Linked DNA regions of Homo sapiens: regions 1 and 3 are each linked to region 2. The links are contacts of gene promoters, found by promoter capture Hi-C in blood cells and fetal thymus (Javierre and others, 2016). All regions are on one chromosome and are shown on one strand. Each heading gives the region's core, a stretch centred on a gene start or on the middle of the fragment in contact. The rest is flanking DNA. Distances are from core to core; before and after follow the strand shown.

Region 1 (4,326 bases), core at 498-2,997, 2.3 Mb before region 2:
GTAAAAATTCAGACAGAAAAAAGCCATAAGCAAAAAATAAAAAGGGGTACAATGATGTGCTATAAACTTCAAAAAGGGGTTAAAACACACACACAGAAAATGGGAAAGACTTGAAGCAGTACAGATTAATAGTCTGGAGTGAGAATTCCTGGATTCTGACTATTTCACACACTTACTGAGCTAGTAAGCTCAGGGAACTAGAGCACATTACTTAACCCCTCTGACCCTAATCTACAGAACCGAGATTACAGAATTTACTTCGAGGAATGTAAGCAACAAAATTTAACCTGTGAAATCATATATTAGCTCAATCTGCACAATTCTATAAGTAGGTATTACATCAACCCCATTTTACATTCAAAAGTTCAGGCTTAGAAAGAGGTTTAGTTGAAGGGCATCCAACTACTAAATGATGGGCCCAAAATTCGAATTTAGATGTAATTCTTAGAGTACGTCCTCCCTCTTCTGTGGTACTTCAAGATCCTACAATCTCCATCTGGTAGAAAAGTCCTTCTTTAAACATCTGTAGAGCTCACACAACAGCTTGTCTATCCCACATATTCATAAAAATGGAATGGTTAATGTAGAGAGACTATGAGGAATGCCCTGTAAAGAGATGATAAAAGCAACAAAGGCCAGCGAAGTGGCTCAATCCTGTCATTCCAACACTTTGGGAAGCTGAGGCGAGAGGATGGCTTGAGGCCAAGAGTTCCAGACCGGCCTGAGGCAATACAGCCAGACTCTGTCTCTAAAAGGTTAAAAAAAATTGTTTTTTTTTAGCCGAATGTTGTGGCGCATGCCTGTAGTCCTAGCTACTCGGGAGGCTGAGGCAAGAGGATCGCTTGAGCCTACGAGGAGTTGGAAGCTGCCCGGAACTATGATCGCTGCACTCCAGCCTGGGCGACAGAGAGACCCTGTCTCAGGAAAAAGAAACTGTCCATAACTTCAAAAGATAAGTAATCGAAAAAAATAATCACACCAAAACAGCCTTAATACACGTACAAAGTAATAGCAATTATACATTATTAAATGTTGTAACTTGAAGGGTCTCTAGAATGTACACAAGAGAATTGTATTATAGTAGTCCAACCCTAAAAGAGAAGGGAGCAGTTCAGGAACAAAGTCTTTCTCAAAGGGCATCTAAATACGATCCTCGGAATACTAAAGTGTGACAGATTAACGAGACGACTACGAAGTCAGTCGAGATCCAAGTGGGAGCGCCAGAGCAGGGCAAGGCAGCAATGCGCTAGCTCAGAAGTTGACTGTAGTGGAAGGTAGACGGAGACCTGGAAGAGGAGGAGGATCTGAGCATTAAAATCAGCTGGCGGGAACAGGACCAGATGTACAAGAGCTGAAGCAAGCAGCAGTGGACAAAAGGAATGGGAAGAGAAACAGGCCCCAAGGCATGTGGCATTTTACGAGCCCAAATCATGACGCTTTTCCCTGGCGTCTTCGGCCCTCGGTAGGGGCCGGATTGCTGGCAGAAGGCGCAGAACCCCAAGCAGTTGGGGGCGGGGGCGCGGACCGCCGCCAACAAGGAGCTGCTGGGCTGAGAGTTCCGCGCTTCCGGTCCCAAGCAGGCCTTCTGGAACCCAGGCTACAGCCCGAAAGTTCTAGGCGGGCATTGTCACCACCGTCTCGGCGTTCTATCCCCGATCTGGCCGCCTCCTCCCCTTGGTAAACTTTTCCCGGTAACTTACCCGCCATTTCCGAGCTACGATCACCCGCGGCTGAGGAAGGACGAATCAACCCGCGCGCTCCCGGGCCGGAAGTGACCGCACAGTCTGACATATTTTCCCCGCCCACTCCCAGCGTGACGTTAGCCAATTAAAGGAGGCGTGTCCAGGAGCCCGGCGGCGGAAGCGCCTCAAGAGGCGGGGCTAACGCCGAGAAGTCTGCGCGGGCCGTTGCCTAGCCACTGCGAATGCCGTCAGCCGCTTTGCAGGCCTGAAGTGGAGAAGGAGGCCGCAAACGGACTTTCGCGGTTGAGATGCTCTCTGGCCCTAGGAAAGTTTCTCTGGGGTTGATTTGATCAATACAGACACTTTACGCCTGTTTTCCATACCCGTCCCTGAGATGTTTTGGAGACTGGCTGAAAATCTTTCCTCTTGGCCTGGACAGTGCATCCAAACACCTGAGCCCTGTGGGCAATTTTACCATTTTACCTAGGTAAAATGTAGAGGTTGAGTTTCAGTTGCGGGAGAAGCTTTCACTTGTTTTCCTCATTTGTTTCTCATTTTGCTGTAAACTTTAACACCTTTTTTCCTTTCTCCCCTGTTTTTAACGTATACAGTATGATATTTAGGTACTCTGCTTTCACTCTGCAGGTTACTAAGAACCGTTTAGCGCGCAAAAATCGTTACCTAGGCCGGGCGCGGTGGCTCACGCCTATAATCCCAGCACTTTGGGAGGCCGAGGCGGGTAGATTGCCTGAGCTCAGGAGTTCGAGACCAGTGTAGCCAACATAGTGAAACCCCGTCTCTACTAAAAATACAAAAATTAGCCAGGCATGGTGGCAGGCGCCTGTAATCCCAGCTACTCGGGAGGCTGAGGCAGGAGAATCGCTTGAACCCTGGAGGCGAAAGTTGCAGTGAGCCGAGATTGCGCCACTACACTCCAGCCTGGGCAACAGAGTGAGACTCCGTCTCAAAAAAAAAAAAAAATTGTTACCTAATAAATACCTCAAGTAGCCTGATGTAGTCTTGCATGCCACATGTCCTAGTGGTTTGAATTACATCACAAGGTGCTACCTGATTTTAGCCATAGGCCTTGTTAGTATTTAGTAGCTGTAGGAACTGCTTTCCCCAGAGGATAAACCACTATTTAGGTATCCACAAATATTCCCACAATGTTGGCTATACACCAGAATTCCTTATCTCAACAAATATTTGTTAACAGGTTTTACAGTGATGCACGCTAAAGCTAAAATGGACCCTTGGGATGATGGTCTAGAACTAACACGCCCTCTCATTTTAGAGATGAGGAAACCAAAGCCCAGAAAAGATAAACTGCCCAAGTTCATTCTCAGTATGCAACCTATGCAGAGTGCAGTTCATCAGATACTCAGCCCAGTATTTATTTGCTCAACTATATAGAGATGGCTTTCCTGAAGATAAAGATCAGAAAAGGTACTGAGAATGCCCAGATCCTTTTTCTTTCTTTTTTTTTTTTTTTTTTTTAGACGGAGTTTCACTCTTGTTGCCCAGGCTGGAGTGCAATGGCACAATCTCAGCTCACCACAGCCTCCGCCTCCCGGGTTCAAGCGATTCTTCTGCCTCAGCCTCCTGAGTCGCTGGGATTACAGGCATGCGCCACCACACCCAGCAATTTTGTATTTTTGTAGAGACGGGGTTTCTCCATGTTGGTTAGGCTGATCTCGAACTCCCAACCTCAGATGATCTGCCCATCTCGGCCTCCAAAAGTGCTGGGATTACAGTCGTGATCCCAAGAAAAGGTTTCAAGATCCTTTTTCTTGAAACCTAATGATACACAAGAAATTACAGTCATAGGCCGGGCGTGGTGGCTCACGCCTGTAATCCCAGCACTTTGTGATGCCGAGGCGGGCGGATCACGAGATCAGGAGATCCAGACCATCCTGACTAACATGGTGAAACCCTGTCTCTACTAAAAATACAAAAAAAGTAGCCGGGCGTGGTAGCGGGTGCCTGCAGTCCCAGCTACTCAGGAGGCTGAGGCAGGAGAATGGCGTGAACCTGGAAGGCGGAGCTTGCAGTGAGCCGAGATCCCGCCACTGCACTCCAGCCTGGGCAAGAGCGAGACCCCGTCTCAAAAAAAAAAAAAGAAATTACAGTCATAATGTTAAGACAGAAAACTGAAATCAATGAGACTAATGACATTATGGATCAAAAAAGGAAAACAATCTTTTTCTTTAATAATCATTTTTGGCTAGGCACGGTGGCTCACACCTGTAATCCCAGCACTTGGGAGGCCAAGGCAGGCAGATCACCTGAGGTCAGGAGTTTGAGACCAGCCTGGCCAACATGGTAAAACCCTGTCTCTACTAAAAAGTACAATAAATTAACCAGGCGTGGTGACATGAGCCTGTAATCTCAACTACTTGGGAGGCTGAGGCAGTAGAATCGCTTGAACCCAGGAGGCGGAGGTTGCAGTGAGCTGAGATAGTGCCACTGCACTCCAGCCTGCTCAAGAGAGCGAGACTCCATCTCAAAAAAAAAAAAAAACTTTTCTTTTCAAAATGGCAAGACTTATCATTTCTTTCCAAAATCACCTTATCTATGGATCAATTGCTGACCAGCAATTATGATCTTTATAAGTAAGAAATCAAGAAGAATTACGTTTTAACTG
Region 2 (3,976 bases), core at 1,016-3,515:
GCAAAATATCAAAAATATGTAGAAGTCACCAATACTGCAAGACCACAATAATAAGCACCACAGTAAATCGACTATATGGTTAAAAATAAATGTAATGAACACTCTTCACCCATAAAGGAACCACTGAGTTAATGAAAGCCAACTTCACACACAATTTTAACAAAGCTGAGTATTTAATTTTCAAGCCCACAGTTGATGGAAGGTGGAGATCAAAATGTCATTTTGCAGGTAGGTGAAGAAACTGAAGCTCAGAAAGATAATTGGGCCAGAAAGTCCAAATTTTTCTAACCTAAGAAGTTTACATACTTATACACTCCTGACAGCAGGAGCACTCCTGACAACTGACTGCCTAGAAAAGCCTTAAAAAGGAAACCAACAATTCAAATGCGCAGAATCCTACTACAAGACCCTATAGGATCTCAGAGCATCAATAATTCTGAATCATAAAGAAATAGTCAAACAATGTACAATGAACTCTTGTTTAAGACACAGAACCATGTAATTTGTTACAGAAATAATTCTGTCCCAACTCGTTAACATAAAAAAAAGGGGAGTGCTAAAACGGGTAAATTTTCAGGATATATTAAAAACAGGAGAGAAGCAGCCATTCTAAATGTATCTTTTCTGGATTTTATAGCACGATTTCAAAATTTATAAAATGTTCACCCCCCCACCCGTCATTGTTACAAAGTAGCAATTACCGGCCATCCTGTTACCAAATGGGAATACACAAAGACAAAAACGTGTGTGTGACCGACACACACACACACTCACTCTTTTTTCCTGGTTTTAACTACTGAAAGTTAATATCAGGCCCCCCTAATTTCTAAAACATCTAATTGTTCTTTGGACAACTATGTTAGTACCAAACTATAAAAGCAAATACTTTTGTATTTGTGTTCACTACTGCAAAATGTTGGTTACACACAGAAAGGGCTATCGTGGAAAGAAATTAAAATCAATGCACAAAATGGTGCTTTTATAGCATTTCCAAAACGATTGTGCATACTCCTTGCCAGCACATCTAGACTTTGCTCCTTAAGACTAAACATGAGCTGGCCGTGCGCGGTGGCTCTCGCCTGTAATCCCAGCACTTTGGGAGGCCGAGGTGGGCGGATCACGAGGTCAGGAGATCGACCATCCTGGCTAACACGGTGAAAACCCGTCTCTACTAAAAACACAAAAAATTAGCCGGGCATGGTGGCACGTGCCTGTAGTCCCAGCTACTTGGGAGGCTGAGGCAGAAGAATCACTTGAACCCAGGAGGCGGAGGTTGCAGTGAGCCAAGATCGCGCCACTGCATTCCAGCCTAGGCGACAGAGCGAGACTCCGTCTCAAAAAAAAAGACTAACCAAGAACCAAATTAGCATACTTCCCCTTCAGGCATACTGAGCCCCGAAATCATCATCTTCCTCCTAAAGAGTAATTATCTCCTCCTAAAAGGCCTGCGCAGCTCACAGCTCCTCCGAAACACGGGGGAACTTCGCGAGAGCTCAAGACCCTGGACTTGAGTTTTAGAAAAATGCTTAACAAAGTGGCCTCTGCCACTTAACTGCACGACAGCCACTGTGCTGTGAGAGGAAAAGGTCGAAAGAGGAGGAAAGCTAGTCTTCAATTTTAATCCCTGTGATTCAGGCTCTTCGCCCGTCACTCTCCAACCCTAGCCTGACAGGACGTCAGGCTGTCTCCCCCTTCCCCACCAGTCCCGCCACCTACCCCGCAACAGTGCTGAGTCTTAGGATTTTGAAGCTTTAAAAATCAACCCGGCTCCCTAGAGTTCAGGCCGCAGTCGCTGCCGCCATGTTACAGCTTGTGCGGCAAAATGCGTCAGTGAGGGAGGTGTGCGCCTGAGTGGGGAGGGCGGGGGCTGGCAGAGGAAGGACCGTCCCCAGGCCCCGGGGCTCGACTGCAAGCCTTCTCCTTCTGCAACAGCGGCAAAGGCACTGCTGCGGTCCTCAGGGACTTCCTCTGGGCCCAAGCAGCCCCGATACCTCGAGGGAAAGACGGTAAACCCAACCCGGTCAGCCGCGCCGGCTCCGCCCCTCTTCCCAGGCCCTTCCCGCTTTCGTACGCAGGGACTGCTGAAATGACGCCGCCAGAACAACTTGAGCCTCATACCACTTACCTGCACCGGTAGAGTTTTCCTCTTCTCTGGGTCCGGTCCTTTGAAGCGCTTCAAATCTACCGCCGCCAGAAAAGGCGCTAAAGCCCGCTAACCGCCTCCCTCCCCCACAACTCAGTCCTGGCATGGAGAGACAGCGTCGCACCGGAAGCGCGTCAGGAGTGGGTTGTCAGCATCGGCCAGCGTTCACCTGCTTGCGTCACCACGCCCTCCTAGGACTTCTAGGATTTTGGTGCCTTTTAAATTCCTAGTTTATAGGTGGCCTAATGCTTTGTGGATGCGTTGACTGGGAACGCTTGTAACCGTTAAAATGCCATATCCTTTGTGAAGTAAAGTGCCTCATTTAATAAACATTTATTGATCTTACGCTAGGTTATCAGAAAGGAAGGCCTACCTTCATGGAGCTTCCAGTTAAGCTTCCACTTAACGCTAGGATATAAGTTCTAAAAACGCAGTAATGAGCAAAGTGTTATTTGAGGAAAGAGGAAGAAATTACAAAGAGCTTTGATGTTCTTTGTTGTTTTACAGATAAAGAAATTGAGGCTCAGGGAAGATAAACGCCTCCTCCTCAAACACACTGTTCTTGAATGCCAAAGCAAGTCTTTTGATGCCAAATCTAGTGCCTTCTAGAGAAAATATGGCATATATTATTTAATTATTTTAAGGGGCAAGGGTCCCCGGATTATGTTAGAAATAAATAACCATTGCTGTTTGGGCGGGGGGGTGGGGGGGGATGGGCAGTGATTCTGGTAGGGATGTGGGGTGTGTTTTAAAGGAACTAGCTAACTAGAGGACTTAAATTGTTCTGTCGTTTAAAGGCAACGTAAATTATGATCATTTAAATTTTTCACTCACTTGCATCAGGTAAATTAATTATCAACAACAGTTAGGCATGTGGTGGTGCTTCTAAGGGGCGTGACCAGTTTTACACAGCAGTAAAACAGAGGACATTTCTGCCTCTCCACCCCCACCTCTTTTAAGTCATTGCCCTTTATTGCAGGAGAGCAGCAGCATATTCATCTTTAGATAGTTCAGAGATTAAACGGATTTACACTTCGCTGTGTGTGGAGGGGACAATTCTGCAATACCTTAAAACAGGGGTCCCCAACCCCTGGGCCACAGACTGGCCTGGCTAATTTTTTGTATTTTTAGTAGAGACAGGGTTTCTCCATGTAGGTCAGGCTGGTCTCAAACTCCCAACCTCAGGTGATCCGTCCTCCTTGGCCTCCCAAAGTGCCGGGATTACAGGTGTGAGCCACCACGCCCGGCCAACGCTTTTCGAAAGAAGACATACTTGCAGCCAACAATCATAATGAAAAAGCTCAACACCACCAATCATCAGAAAAATGCAAATCAAAACCGCAGTGAGATACTATCTCATACCAGTCAGAATGGCTATTATTAAAAAGTCAAAAAATAACAGGTGCTGGTGAGGTTGTGGAGAAAAAGGAACATTTTACAGTGCTGGTGGGAGTTTAAATGAATTCAACTATTGTGGAAGACAGCGTGGCGATTCCTCAAAGACCTAGAGGCAGAAATACCATTTGACCCAGCAATCACATTACTGGGTATATACCCAAAGGAATATAAGTTGTTCTGTTATAAAGACATACACATATGTATGTTCATTGCCACACTATTCACAATAGCGAAGACATGGAGTCAACCTAAATGTCCATCAATGGTAGACTTGATAAAGAAAATGTGGTACATATACTCCATGGAATACTATGCAGCCATGAAAAAGAATGATCTCATGCCCTTCGCAGGAACATGGATGGAGCTGGAGACCATTATCCTTAGCAAACTAATGCAGAAACAGAAAACCAAGTACCACATGTTCTCACTTATAAG
Region 3 (4,469 bases), core at 915-3,414, 2.1 Mb before region 2:
CCCAGGGGCCTTAAGTATTTCCGCTTTGCCAAAAACTGGAAAACTACGCCTAATATTCTCAGGCCAGGAATCCAACTTCCGCCCTCGCCTTACAAACTGACACGATCGAGAAGAACTACAAACCCCGGCAACAAGGAAAACCTGCGTGCGACGAGCAGTGCGTTCTGGGAATTGTGGTCGCTGGGCGTCGCAAGGTGTGCTGGGACATGTAGTGTGTCCCCTCCTTTAGATTTCCCACTCCAAGGCCTTCTTCCGTCGAGAAGCTTCTGTATAAAGTATTCTCGTCTGTTGATCCGTGCCCACAGTGTAGTATGTGTTATAGTGTAAGATCTTTGACCCAATATTGGCGGAATTTTAAGGTCTATTTTCCAGTGGTGAACCTGTGAATCACGCTGCTGCACATTTGGTGAAGACGTGAAGTAGACTGTTTAGGATGTAAAACATTATATATATATATGTACATACATATGTAAGTTTTAGGGAAAGAATGTCTTATATAGGCTTCATGTGGCATCTTAGGCAAAATCTAAATAAAAATATGTCAACTGACATAGCAAATAATTCTTTAGTATTTTGTTGCAGTGTGGTAGCATTTTGGTTTTCTCTCAAACAATTTTAGGAAATAAAGCATTTTGTATTATTGGACTCTCAAACCAAGCTAGAATGTTTTCCACAGTTAGATTTTTAACATACAAAGAAAACAAAAGTTACTGGAACATGAATTTACCTGCAATGTATACATTGACACACCTTTTTAAAGTTTAAATAATTTAAAGCATTATTTGGCAGGAGTTAAAGCTAACACCAAGGTAATATCTTTTCTATGTTCTAGAAAACTGATTGTTCTAGAAGTTCTAGATATTGCCCAAGTCTAGAATGAACCTTTATGATTCAAATTCCAAGTCCTTGGGCTTGTGGTCTTTTTCTTATCTTTCTCTGCCTTATCTGTGGTCTTTTGTGTAGAAAAAAATATTCTAAAAATAAATTTGAGAAAGAAAATCCTTGGCTTTCCACAGCTTTTCCCAATAACCTAACATTCAAAGAGCTTTATAGCTATGTTATTTTTTTACTTCTTTCCTAATAGTTTTCATGTATTAATTTGAAAAAAAATTATTATTGATTGCCTACCATGTGCCAGCAATGGTGATGGGTGTTGTGGTAACAGCTAAAATGGACCAGGCGCAGTGGCTCACACCTGTAATCCCAGCACTTTGGGAGGCCGAGGCAGGCAGATCACCTGAGCTCAGGACTTAGAGACCAGCCTGGGCAACATGGTGAAACCCCGTCTCTACAAAAAATAGAAAAATTAGCAGGGTGTGTGGCATGCGCCTGTAGTCCTAGCTAGTCACGAGGCTGAGGCAGGAGGATGGCTTGCGCCCAGGAGGCGGAGGTTATAGTGAGCTGAGATTACACAATTGCATTCCAGCCTGGGAGACAGAGCAAGACCCTGCCTCAAAAAAAAAAAAAAGAAAAAGAAACAAAAAAAACAAAAAACATAAAAATGCACAAAAATGCACATCCTTCTTCTCAAGGGAGAAAGGACACTCGCTCAACTAAGAATGGATGGTTCCTGACTGATGGTTTAACTTATGATTTTTTTCTCATTACAATGGGCTTATTAGAGTAAAATGCATTTTCAACATATATTTTTGACTTAAAATGGGTTTATCAGGACATAACTCAAGGAGCATCTGTATAATGATGGAATTATATAAGGAAGTCATAGAAACACCTGGAAAAACTTTTCAGGAAACTTTTGGAAGGAGGTGATTCTAGAGCTAAGTCTTTGATTCTCAAAGGTTGAGTAGAAGAAGTTAGCCAAGCAGAGAAGATGCAGAAAGGTGCCTTGGGAAGAGAAAAGAATATGGACAAAGGACAGAGGTGTGAGAGCATAGAATGCTGGTGAATTTGGAAATAATTCACAATGGCCGTAGGCTAAGACAGGAACTGGGGAATGAAGCCATAAGCAGGGGCAAAGTCGCACATCCCAGTTTAGATTTAGTCCTACAGATGATGTGAATCCACTGGTAGATTTTAAGAGGGTGCAAGGTATGAGAAGGTTTGCATTTTAGATGACTGGCCTTTCAAAGTAGTCCGGAGAAAGACTAATGTGCTGGTTATTTTCTTTGCCCCCCAGATTCATTTCCTGCCCTTCTTTGCTAAGCTCTATGCCTCTGAGGGTTGACCTCAGTTTCTTTAAGGACTGCTTTGTGGTTGGACATAAAGAAGGCCAAGGCAAGGATATCAGAAGGTGGGTAGAAAGGGAAATTGGGGCATCTCTTCCTTGCTCCTTCCTTCTTTGAGTGTCAGATGTCCAGCAATAGCTTCATTCCTTCATGACTACAGTACCTGCCAGATGGCTCTTTCACCATGGCTCTAGTTTTCCCCGGGCTGTCTGGTGATTTTATGTTCTCCTTTTATCTCTTGAACACCTCCTCTGTAGCTAGTCTCTGAGTGCCTCATCATCTCGTTTGTTCCCTTAATACCCGCTCACCCCTCTGTAACTTGTCCTTTCATTAAAGTATTTTCATGTGAACTATCTTGTGAATTCTGTTTCTTGTTGAGACCCTTGTTGATACAGCTTGCCTAGAGGGATGAGAGGTGGAGAAAGAGGTAAGGTAGAGACTGGAAGCAGGGAATGCAACTGGAAGAATTTGGGTAGAGCCAGCAATTATAAATGCATGAACTGATGCATCATCAGTGAGAATTAAGAAAAGTAGATGGATTGGAGAAATGTTAACATTATGTGAGACTTCTACAGCAATAAAGCAGACTAGATACCTCTTCCCACTGAAAACCACTCAATATACTGGCTGGATAATGTAGCTTTTGAGTGGGTACAGTGGCTCATGCCTATAATCCCAGCACTTTGGGAGGCCAAGGTGGGAGGATCACTTGAGCCCAGGAGTTCGAGACCAGCCTGGGCAAGATGGCAAAACCCCATTTCTGTAAAAAATTTTAAAATTAGCTAAATATGATGGTACTCACCTGTAGGCCCAGCGACTTGGGAGGCTAAGGGCGGGAGGTTTGCTTGAATCCAGGAATTTGAGGCTGCAGTGAACTATAATCACACCATTGCACTCCAGCCTGGGTGACAGAGTGACATCCTATTGCTTAAATAAATAAATAAAATTTAAAAAAATGTTTTAAGATATGAAATACGTAACTAAAAAACCCCCCACTTTTTTGTTGTTTTATTTTTAACACTTTTTTGAAGAAATGCATTAGCAGCACTGATTAGAAAGACTGTACCCTGGACATTACATAGTTCAAACCACTATGTCTTCCTACTTTTTAAGTTGGAAGGGCTGGGGAGGAGTCCTAATAAGCATTAGTGCTGCAGGGTGTTTTCGAAGGGGAGAATTTGCATTTTAAAACTTCTTATAATGGTTTGTAGGAGAGGGTAGAAATATAATATATACAGATGAATTTGTTGAACAAACTCATATCTGGATTTACACTTGAATTCAATATGCCAATGTTTGCAAAATTTTAATACAATTAATATATTGACATAATGCAGGATTTCATTTATATAGAATGCAAAAGAAGGTAAAACTAATCTAATGAAATGTCAGAATAGTGGCTATTGAGGTATAGGGATATTGATGGCAAGGGATATGGGGAGGTTTCTGCGGTGCTGGGAATGTTTCATTTCTTCATCTGGTGGGGGTTACACACATTTACATATCTGTAAAACATTCATTGACCTCTACTCTTAACATGGGTCCTTTTTATTGTATGTATGTTATATTCAAAAAATAGTTAAGAAAAAAGTAGCTATTAAACCATGGGACTTAAACAAATGTATAAAACATCAAAAAGATGTAGCAGACACCAAATTGGAAGAGGAAGGAATTTGAAGGGGTTAAAAATGTATTCTGCTACCCAGCAGTTCAGGCATCTCAAAATATTCCAGGAACTCTAGTAAGTCCCAAGTAATCAGCTAGAACATTTATAGCCATTTGTTGACAACCTTGTTATATACATCCTCATCATACAAGTTTTTAATGAAATTATGTTGTGAAAAGAAAGCTGTGGCCCCATAGCAATGCATGAAGCTTTCTAGTAATTATATTTTTAATGCTCTTGCGTAAATGTCACTTGATTGGTTTATAACTTTGCTAAAATGACATGTATAAAATCTAATACATACATTTGTGTGACCTTCTTACCATGCAAAGAACATTTTCCAGGACCTTTTCATAAATATTGGATTGTTATTATTTTTTCCACATTTTAATCAGAGGTCCTCTAAGATTTCACTTTGGTTAAGTTCATGAGGTTTCTACCAGATTGCCTGTGGAATCTTGAGATTGTTCATTCTTCACATGTTAACAGCTCTTCCTGAGTCACTTGTGTTTTTAATTTTTTTCTAAATATTTCCACTTCACCTTCAGTAAATGTATTTGACTCTTAGAAACATTGGCATGAGAAAATATTTTCTTCCAACTTTGGAAACTCTCTTA

Evidence for each region. Contacts are between HindIII fragments. The CHiCAGO score rates a contact against its expected background, and 5 or more counts as called.
Region 1: a contact is called between the fragment with the promoter of HAT1 here and the fragment with the promoter of PPIG in region 2, in 1 of 17 cell types (total B cells). The highest score is 8.2, in total B cells.
Region 3: a fragment that was not itself captured here is called in contact with the fragment with the promoter of PPIG in region 2 in 1 of 17 cell types (non-activated CD4 T cells); the score reaches 9.0 in non-activated CD4 T cells.

The regions. Positions count from the first base shown.
Region 1 is chr2:171,919,882-171,924,207 of GRCh38, reverse strand. HAT1 (histone acetyltransferase 1) reads right to left here and starts at 1,747. Exons shown (of 11, transcript NM_003642.4): 1 at 1,701-1,747. The coding sequence starts at 1,707. LOC105373740 (a long non-coding RNA gene) reads left to right here and starts at 1,819. Exons shown (of 3, transcript XR_923579.2): 1 at 1,819-2,169; 2 at 2,977-3,128. RefSeq lists enhancers at 1,473-1,522, 1,663-2,311. The HindIII fragment of the contact is 14,743 bases long and covers 1-2,208 here.
Region 2 is chr2:169,582,640-169,586,615 of GRCh38, reverse strand. It overlaps PPIG (peptidylprolyl isomerase G), which reads right to left and starts at 2,265. Exons shown (of 14, transcript NM_004792.3): 1 at 2,126-2,265. RefSeq lists an enhancer at 2,300-2,349. The HindIII fragment of the contact is 789 bases long and covers 1,752-2,540 here.
Region 3 is chr2:171,683,113-171,687,581 of GRCh38, reverse strand. DYNC1I2 (dynein cytoplasmic 1 intermediate chain 2) reads right to left here and starts at 113. Exons shown (of 18, transcript NM_001378.3): 1 at 1-113. RefSeq lists an enhancer at 1-112. The HindIII fragment of the contact is 3,798 bases long and covers 266-4,063 here.